Regions from separate parts of the Homo sapiens genome. Here region 1 is linked to region 2. Evidence: promoter capture Hi-C in 16 types of primary human blood cells and fetal thymus (Javierre and others, 2016). All regions are on one chromosome and are shown on one strand. The core of a region is centred on a gene start or on the middle of the fragment in contact, and the rest is flanking DNA. Distances in the headings are between cores, read along the strand shown. Region 1 overlaps CCSER2 (coiled-coil serine rich protein 2). Region 2 holds the start of RGR (retinal G protein coupled receptor).

The links. Contacts are between HindIII fragments. The CHiCAGO score rates a contact against its expected background, and 5 or more counts as called.
Region 1: a fragment that was not itself captured here is called in contact with the fragment with the promoter of RGR in region 2 in 1 of 17 cell types (total CD8 T cells); the score reaches 5.1 in total CD8 T cells.

The regions. Positions count from the first base shown.
Region 1 is chr10:84,395,881-84,400,005 of GRCh38, reverse strand. The region is part of intron 3 of CCSER2 (coiled-coil serine rich protein 2); the gene reads right to left. Among named protein-coding and RNA genes, the nearest start is that of CCSER2, 69 kb to the right of the region's middle. The HindIII fragment of the contact is 156 bases long and covers 2,676-2,831 here.
Region 2 is chr10:84,243,231-84,247,771 of GRCh38, reverse strand. It overlaps RGR (retinal G protein coupled receptor), which reads right to left and starts at 2,719. Exons shown (of 7, transcript NM_001012720.2): 1 at 2,603-2,719; 2 at 25-181. The coding sequence starts at 2,681. RefSeq lists an enhancer at 2,074-2,573. The HindIII fragment of the contact is 12,009 bases long and covers 1-4,541 here.

The DNA of each region.
Region 1 (4,125 bases), core at 1,504-4,003, 150 kb before region 2:
AAAAGTTCAACCTCATTTGAGACTAAGCGAATCAAAACCACAATAAAATACCACTTAACGCCCAGTAAGATGGTTACTTAAAGAAAGAAAGAAAGAAAAAAAGACAGAAAATAACAAGTGAATATATTTGAAATTTCCATAAAGGGTTAAGTGATTGCCTGGTTTAAAAATAAACTCTATGAAATCTCTCAAAAAAAAAAAAAAGGCCAAAAAAGGTAAAAGAACAAAGGTTTAAAAAATAAATGAAAACAAAGAGAAAATGAAAAAGAGGCTCAACAGAGATATAACAGCCAATTATTAGAAGTTCTAGAAAAGGGGCACAGAAACAATGGAGGGGATATAATAATTAAATATGAACATTTTCCAGATTTAAAAGAATAATGGAACAAATTCTCCAGGAAGGTTTAAAAAAATGCCATTATCTTATTTAAAATTACTAGCTGGTAGGTACCCAAAACATATTTAGTGAAAATAAATAAATCCAGACTAACACTCATCCCGACTTCTAATCCAGTGTTCCTATCTCCGACTCTTATTGTGACACCCAAAAATTCCTACTCCGAGAGATTTCAGGTAAACTGTTTCTGGAAGTGTGGGAAATACACATACACCATGGAATATTACTCAGCCATAAAAAAGAATGAGATCATGTCTTTCACAGTAACATGGAACTAGAGGGTATTATTATAAGTGAAATAACTCAGAAACAGAAAGTCACATACCACATGCTCTCACTTATAAGTGGGAGCTAAACAATGGGTACAGCTGGACATACAGAGTGGAATAACAGACACTGGAAACTACAAAAGGTAGGAGGATGGGAAGGAGGTGAGGGCTTAGAATTTACCAATAGGTACAATGATCATTATTCAGGTGATGGGTATGCTAAAAGCCTAGATTTCACCACTACACAATATACACATGTGAAAAATCTGCATCTGTATTCCCAAAATATATAAAAATTAAATTTAAAAAATCTTTCTGGAAAATAGGCTCAGGCCATGACTCTAACTCTCTGTAAAACTCAAATGGCCAGATGTGGTAAGAGTGAACAACTTTAAACAAGCTTACAAAACATCACCAGAATACAGGCACTGTACAGAAGAAACTTCCTTAAAATATACTGGTTCCCAGACCAAGAAAACAGAACAAGGCTCTGTGAATATGTCTACATAAATTCTTCACAAAGAATACCCTATGAAACAAAATTATTACTTTAAAAAAAAAAGTCTGTTCATCATTGTATTCCCTGTGAATTATTAACCAAAGAGGGTAGACTTCAGCTATAGCTCAATTCTTTACAAATTTCTCTTCTGCTCTCAAGAAATGATCTTAGATTTTTCTCTATCCTTCCCTGGAACAAACCTACCTTAACACCCAGGAACTTTAAAAATAAACAGGAATAAATTCAAAATCTGAGAAATAAAGAGGAAGAAATGAGTAGGAAAGCATGTAGCTCCTTTCAAAAGGCACAAACAAATATTGTTTCATTTTGGCGTGTCTCCATGCTAAAATTATGGCTTCTCAAAATATTTTAAGAATTCTACTACAATAAAAACAGGAGTTTCAGAGAAATGAAATAATTTTCCTGATAAGCAGAATAATCCCTGTAAATATGATAGCTTACATAGCAAAGAGGGAATTATGGTTGCCAGTCAGCTGACCTTAAAATAGAGGTATTATCCTGGATTATCTGAGGGGGCCCAATGTATAATAATCACTCAGAATGGAAGAGGGAGGCAGAAGACAGACAGAAGGAGAATGGTCAAAGAGGTGCGGTGTTGCTCGGTTTGAAGACAGAGGAAGGAAGTCATGAACCAAAGGCAGTTTTTAGAAGGTGGAAAAGACAGGGAAATGGATTCTTCCCTCGAGTCTCCAGGAAGGCACCTAGCCCTGCTGACATCTTGATTTTAGCCTGCAGAGACATGTGTCTGACTTGTAAGCTAGAGAGGATAGTAAGATAACAAACAGTGTGTTGTTTTAAGCCATTGTATTTGTGGTAATTTGTCACAGCAGCCAGAGAAAACGAATACACCCTGTTTCTCAAATGCTATAATTAGGCTTATTTGTTTCTACTGTTTTAGAGTCAATCCTATACTTACTGCATTCACTTTCTATAATTTAAATATTTGTTCCTTCCTTTCTGTGATGCCTTACAAAGGCTGAAACAGAAATAGGCCACTACAGAAGCACATTAGCACCTGAAAAAGGAGAAGAGTCAGGTGTGACTGGTGGGACTTCTAATGGTTGCAGTAATGTAATATGTTGTAGACCTCAGCAGTAAGCTCAAATCAAGTTTTGCTTGACTGGACTTTACTTAAGCCTTTTAAAATTTACTTTTTTACTTCAGCCTTCACAGGCTTCAGATGAGTAATTTCAGCTATACTGATTATAACAGTCGGTGGCAGACTTCAGTTAACATATATATTTAATAAATCAAAATGCCAAGTGCATTAGTGGTATGTGTAGTCTTTTTGTTAGATGAGAGAAAATGAATGTATTGAGTGACCTCAATTCCTTTAGCAGTCAGAATTTCCTTATTTTAGGTTCAATTTTCTGTCCTCAAACCAGTCAAGTTACAGTGCATCCATCAGTGCCCATTTAACCTGAGGACAGCCCCATCACATTTTTGTATATTACATCAAATGAAGTTTCAGTAACATTTTTTAAAAGCTTTTCTTTTTGTTCTGTTTTACTGCAGAATTTCATATCTTAAGGACATTATACTTTGGGGGAGGTGGTAATAAAAATATCATAGGATGATTTTATGAGTAGATTATGGTAATACCAGAGATTTATTAATCAATGCACTTAAGATTTACCAGTAAGCTTTAGGTAAGAGTAGAAAGTCACTGGAATGTTCTAGGAAAATAGAATACCATGCATAGCAACTTTCATATAGTAATACTGACTAGCACTTTTATATGCAGAAGTTTCTACACAACTGAATAGGAGCTGGTATGGACACAAGTAAGGTGGTAGATGTGTTTTTTTATCTAAATTACAAAAATAATACTGCTCTATACTAGCATAGTCATTACGGCAGTTTATAACTGTAAAATATTGGAAACAATCTTGATGCCCATTGTTGGGAGAGTAATTGAATAAACAATGCACAATCTACAAAATAAGTAGTATACAGCGGTACAAAAAGAATAAGGATGATCTCGGCCAGGTGTGGTGGCTCACGCCTGTAATCCCGACACTTTGGAAGGCCAAGACGGGTCGATCACTTAAGCCCAGGAGTTCAAGACCAGCCTTGGCAACATGGTGAAACCCCATCTCTACCAAAAATACAAAAATTAGCCAGTCTCATAACCCAGTCTCAAAATAAACAAACAAATACATACATAGGTTAAAATTTAAAAATAAAATATTTTTTTAAAAAGAAGAAAAGGGAAGATCTCTATGAAGTAACATGAAATAAATGAGTACTTTAAATAAACCACGATGTGGGCAGAACCCAAAACGAAATACAAACAGCAACAAATGAACCTAAAAGTATTACAAATGAATAATACAATCACGCTGAAAGGATTGAGAACTAAAACAACTAACGTAAGTAAACTTGGAAAACAGTACTTATTGTATTCTGTAAGGTTAAGGTTTAAAAAAAAAATGCTAAACAAATATTGTAAGTTAGTAAATCTTTTTCATAGGGTGTAAGTTAGCAATTCTGAAACTGTGTGTATATAATATAGTATAAATATAGTATAGTTATGGTATATAATATACTATATATACTATATCTATAACTATGTATGAATATATACTATAATCCTTATACACACACACACACACACACACACACACACACACAGTGTTGAATAACTAAGAAAATATATTGTGGTTGAGAAACCAAGTTTCTCACTTTCTGAGAAAAGGCTTAAAAATAAGAAGAAAGGCTAGAACAAATTCTGTGGCATTTGATTGGAGTCAAAGGTATCCGTGTGAGCTCTTGGTCTTTAATATATACGGAAATGGATACAGAAATAAATATAGAAGAGAAGTGTGTGTGTATACATATAATTGTCAGTTCTGTCTGCCACAATAACTAAAAGTAATTACACCTCAGTAGCAACGAACACACCTAGGCCCCAGATCTTGGTTTCTAAATCTCATTCT
Region 2 (4,541 bases), core at 1,470-3,969:
GTGGACTGGGGAGGGGGCTGGTACCGGAGAAGGCTGGATGTGGCTGCAACGAGGGCATTCAGGCTGATCCCACTGTCCGCAAGAGCCAAGCTCAGCACCAGTAGGTGGCAGGGAGTCCGCAGCTCCGGGGTCTTGCAGAAAGAGAAGATGGTCAGGGTATTGAGGCTGAGACCGGAGAGAGCTGAAAGGAAGGGTGGGGGCTGGCATTGGGGCTGCTGAGGCCCAGCTGGGGTCAGAACAGTGTGTGTGGGGTGGATGGAACATCAGCAACCTCCTGGACAGACAAGGAAGACAATCAATATAGGGTAGCATGCTTCATGCTATAACAGTCATAATCACTGACAGCTGCCAGGCACTTAGCACACACCAGGCACCAGGATAAGCACTTTATATGAGTCATCTCATTCAATCTTTACTTGGATACTCTCTTCTCCATTTATAGCTGGGAAACTGAGGCTCAGAGACACTAGCTAACTTGCCCTAAGTACACAGCTAGTAAGCGGTGGAGCTGGAACTTGAATTCAGGCCTTTTGGATTTCAAAATGCCTTCTCCAAGGACTGTAGAGCAAAGTCAGAGAGGCTCCAAGGAGAAGAGTCGATGTTAGAGCTGGGAGCTGCCCAGGACGCCAGGCATGGAAGTGAACATGAAGGGGGCGTACTCTGGCAACAGAGAGACCCGACCTTGAATTTTGGCTTGGTTGCCTCGCTTGCTGCTCCTTAAGCTCTCTGAACCTCAGCTTCCCCTATCTAAAGTGAGGAACAGGAAAAAATCCTGCCTTCAAAACTATGAGAAGCACTTACCTGCAGGACAGTGCATGGAAGAGCATTCCAGGAGGGAATAGCATGTGCAAAGACATGCTATGGTACAATGAGATACCACCTTACTCCTATAAGAATGACCATCATTAAAAAGTCAAAAAACAATAGATCAATGCCATGGATGTGGTAAAAAGGGAATGCTTATGCACTGCTGGTGGGAATATGTAAATTAATACAACCTCTATGGAAAACAGTATAGAGATTCCTTAAATAACTAAAAGTAGATCTGCCATTTAATCCAGCCAAAAACACACATGCACATCTATGCTTACCGAGGCACAATTCACAATTGCAAAGATACGAAATCAATGTAAGTGCCCACTGACCAATGAATGGATAAAGAAAATGTAGTATATATACATCATGGAATAATAGCTGTAAAAAGGAATGAAATAATGTCTTATTACAGCAATTTGGATGGAGCTGGAGGCCATTATTGTAAGTGAAGTAACTCAGGAATGGAAAACCAAATGCTGTTTGTTCTCAGTTACAAGTGGGAGCTAAACCGTGAGTACGCAAAGGCATTCAGAGGACACAATGGACTCTGGAGACTCAGAAGGGGAAGGGTGGGAGAGGGAGTGGGATTAAAAAAACCTACAAATGAGGCACAATGTACGCTACTTGGGTGATGAGTGCACTAAAGTCCTAGCATTTGCCACGATGTAATTCATCTATGTAAACAAAAATCACTTGTATCCCCAAAGCTATTGAAATTTAAAACATATTTTAAATAAAATAAAAACCAAAGCATTGTGTATATAATGACATTTCTAGTCATTAAACATGAAATAAAAATGTAAATTTAAACCCCTTCCAAAAAATAAAGTGGTAAAATTTTATGGCATGTTTGAGGACCTGGAAGGATGCTAGATTGTAGGGTTCTCAGGAAAGGGAGACACGGGCTGGGGCCACCAGACAGTCGTGTCCAGAGCCTTCAGGACCAATCTAATGACTGTCACTTCCTCTCCATTGTCAGTTCTCATTAGGTGAGAAAACGTGCTGATGATTTCTCTGGGTCTGCTTTGAACCAAAGCTGCGTTCTCCATCAATTTAGCTTGGGCTGGCCCAGATTCAGGATTGACACTGTCTCTAGCTCTGGCCTCAGCGAGCATCTTAGGGATTCTAGGTTGAGGTAGGTACCTCGCAGACCCAGGTTGCCTCCAGAGGTGAAGTGCTTGGGCTCATAGGAGTAGACACAGTGAAAATAGTGGTGGGGCTGGAGAGGATGGGAGTGAATGAACTTAAATACCCTAGAGTCTATTTAGGCTAGCACTTTATACCCATTATCCCATTTAATCTTTACAACCACCCATTCGGAATGTCAAGGCATTGAGGGCAGAGAGCTGAAGGGACTTGGTTCCAGCCACACAAGAGCAGGAGGCAGAGCTGTCTGTCCCCAGAGCCTTTTGGGGGACTGATCTTATGTGGGATTCTCAGCAGGATTTCCAAGGAGTGGATTAAATTTTCTCCCGGCTGGAGGGACATGAAAAGTCCTAAAGCCTGGCTCTTGATCATCTCCTGGGCAGATGTCCCCTTTCAAAGTCCCTCCCTCCCTGACCCTTGCCTGGCTTCCTCTCTGCTCCCAGCGGGCAGTGTGCTGCACCTCACAGGTTCAATTGTCAGAACACCCCCCGAGTCCGGGCACAGAGGGGAAGGCAGCCAATGGGACCGGACACCCAGCTGGGTTTGGGGACCTCTCCTCTCCTTGCCAGCTCCACACTGGTGGCCTGGGTCCTCAGAACCCACTGGGCCCCCGCTGCACCCCAGGTTCTGCCTGGCTCACCTTCCACCAGTAGCACCATCCCCACAGCCAGCACCTCGAGCTCCCCGAAGCCAGTGGGCAGGGCACTGGTCTCTGCCATCCTCACTCTCCCTCACTGCCAGTGGCCCAGCTGTCTCTGGCTTCCCACAGCCAGGCCCTCCCTTTTAAAGGGCCATCCCATGTGCGTGGAGGCACATGCAGGTTATTATGTTGGACCTTGGGCTGTTTCTGGATGCCTCCCCGCTGCAAATGGTCCTCTTGGCCCAAGCAGAAGGAACCCATTCACGAGTTGGACAATGCAGCCTTTGTGAAGCCAGAATGGAGCCCTGTCTCATTCATTTCAGCCCCATTGCACAGGATTAAGGTCGGGGAATCCAAATGGTGTGTGGCTGAGAGCCTAATTGGAAAAGAGTTGCATAACCAGGGGAGGGGAGCAGGAGGAGGGATTTGAGCCGCAGCTGTTCCCAACAAGCCTGGTGCCTGTGTGTGTGTCCTCAGGCTCACATGAGTATACTCCAAAGCGCTGGGGAAAGGATGAGGCTTGGGAAGTCGCCTGCTGTCAGAGGAAGAACCCCATCTGGGACCAGAAAATGGGGTTGGGGTTCTGGTTCTGAATCTGCCACTAACTAGTTATGCGCCTTGGAGTGGGACCACTGGACTCTTCCGTTTACTTTTCTGCAATGTCAATGTCTTTTGTCTGTGGCCTTTATATAAGTCCTGGTTAGATATCACGAATATAAACCTCAGGGCTGCATTTCCTGTCTCCCATAGAGCACCTGAGCATAAAAAATGTCCTAGGACACTGTCTTAGAACAGAGGGGCTGCCTGCCGTCTTGTCAGTCTCCGACCCCGAACCCGCCCAGCCTTGCCGGCCCCACTAAGAGCTTTGGCTGCTACAAATGACTTCTTGATACACTGGCTCTTTATGCACTGTTATGCTCTGGCTCATGATAAAATTTACACCAGGAAATACTGATCTAGGACAACTTAGTTCATTTTCAGATAAAGAAACCAAGCTCCAGAGCACTATCAGCAACATAGCTAATATTGAGTGAGGTCAGGCCCTGTGCTAGGGGATCTTCTGATGAGTCCTACAACAACTCCATGAGTTAGATACCATTATCCTTTCCATTTTAGATGAGGAAACTGTGGCTAAAAACAGTTAAGAATCTGCCTGAGGCCATGCAGTAATTTATGGATGGAGCTGGAACAAAAGCCGATCTCCTATTCCTCAGGCTCAGGCATTTTTCAATGGCATCTTCTGACTCACCTGGTAGAGCAACCCACTCTGTTCCAGGAATGCCCACTTCCCAGGCCTTTCCTCTCATGAGTCCTCACTTACATCCAAGCCTAATCCCTCTGCAGGGCTGAGCTTATGGCTGCGCCCTCCAGAGCGTTCCCTGTTCTTTCTCAATTTCTTTTTTGTTTTTTTGTTTGTTTTTGAGATGGAGTCTCGCTCTGTCGCCCAGGCTGGAGTGCAATGGCGCAATCTCGGCTCACGCAACCTCTACCTCCCCAGTTCAAGCTATTCTCCTGCCTCAGCCTCCCGAGTAGCTGGGATTACAGGCATGTGCCACCATGCTCGGCTAATTTTGTATTTTTATTAGAGACAGGGTTTCTCCATGTTGGTCAGGCTGGTCTTGAACTCCCGACCTCAGGTGATCTGCTGGCCTTGGACTCCCAAAATGCTGGGATAACAGTCATGAGCCACCCTGCCTGGCCTTCTGTCTCAATTTCTACCTTATGGTGTTGGTTAATACATATGTCAGTCCTTTTTTCATGCCTTCGAGATCACAAAAGCCTTCATGAGAGGAGATAAAGCAGGGCAAGGCCAAGATTAAAGGGTAAAGTTCATTTGGGCAAAAGACACAAGGAGGAAGAAGCAGAGATGTGGGAACAGGCAAGCTGACGGCTGGGTTTGGGGAGGTGGAAGTATAGCTGGGAAGCACTGAGAAAATCC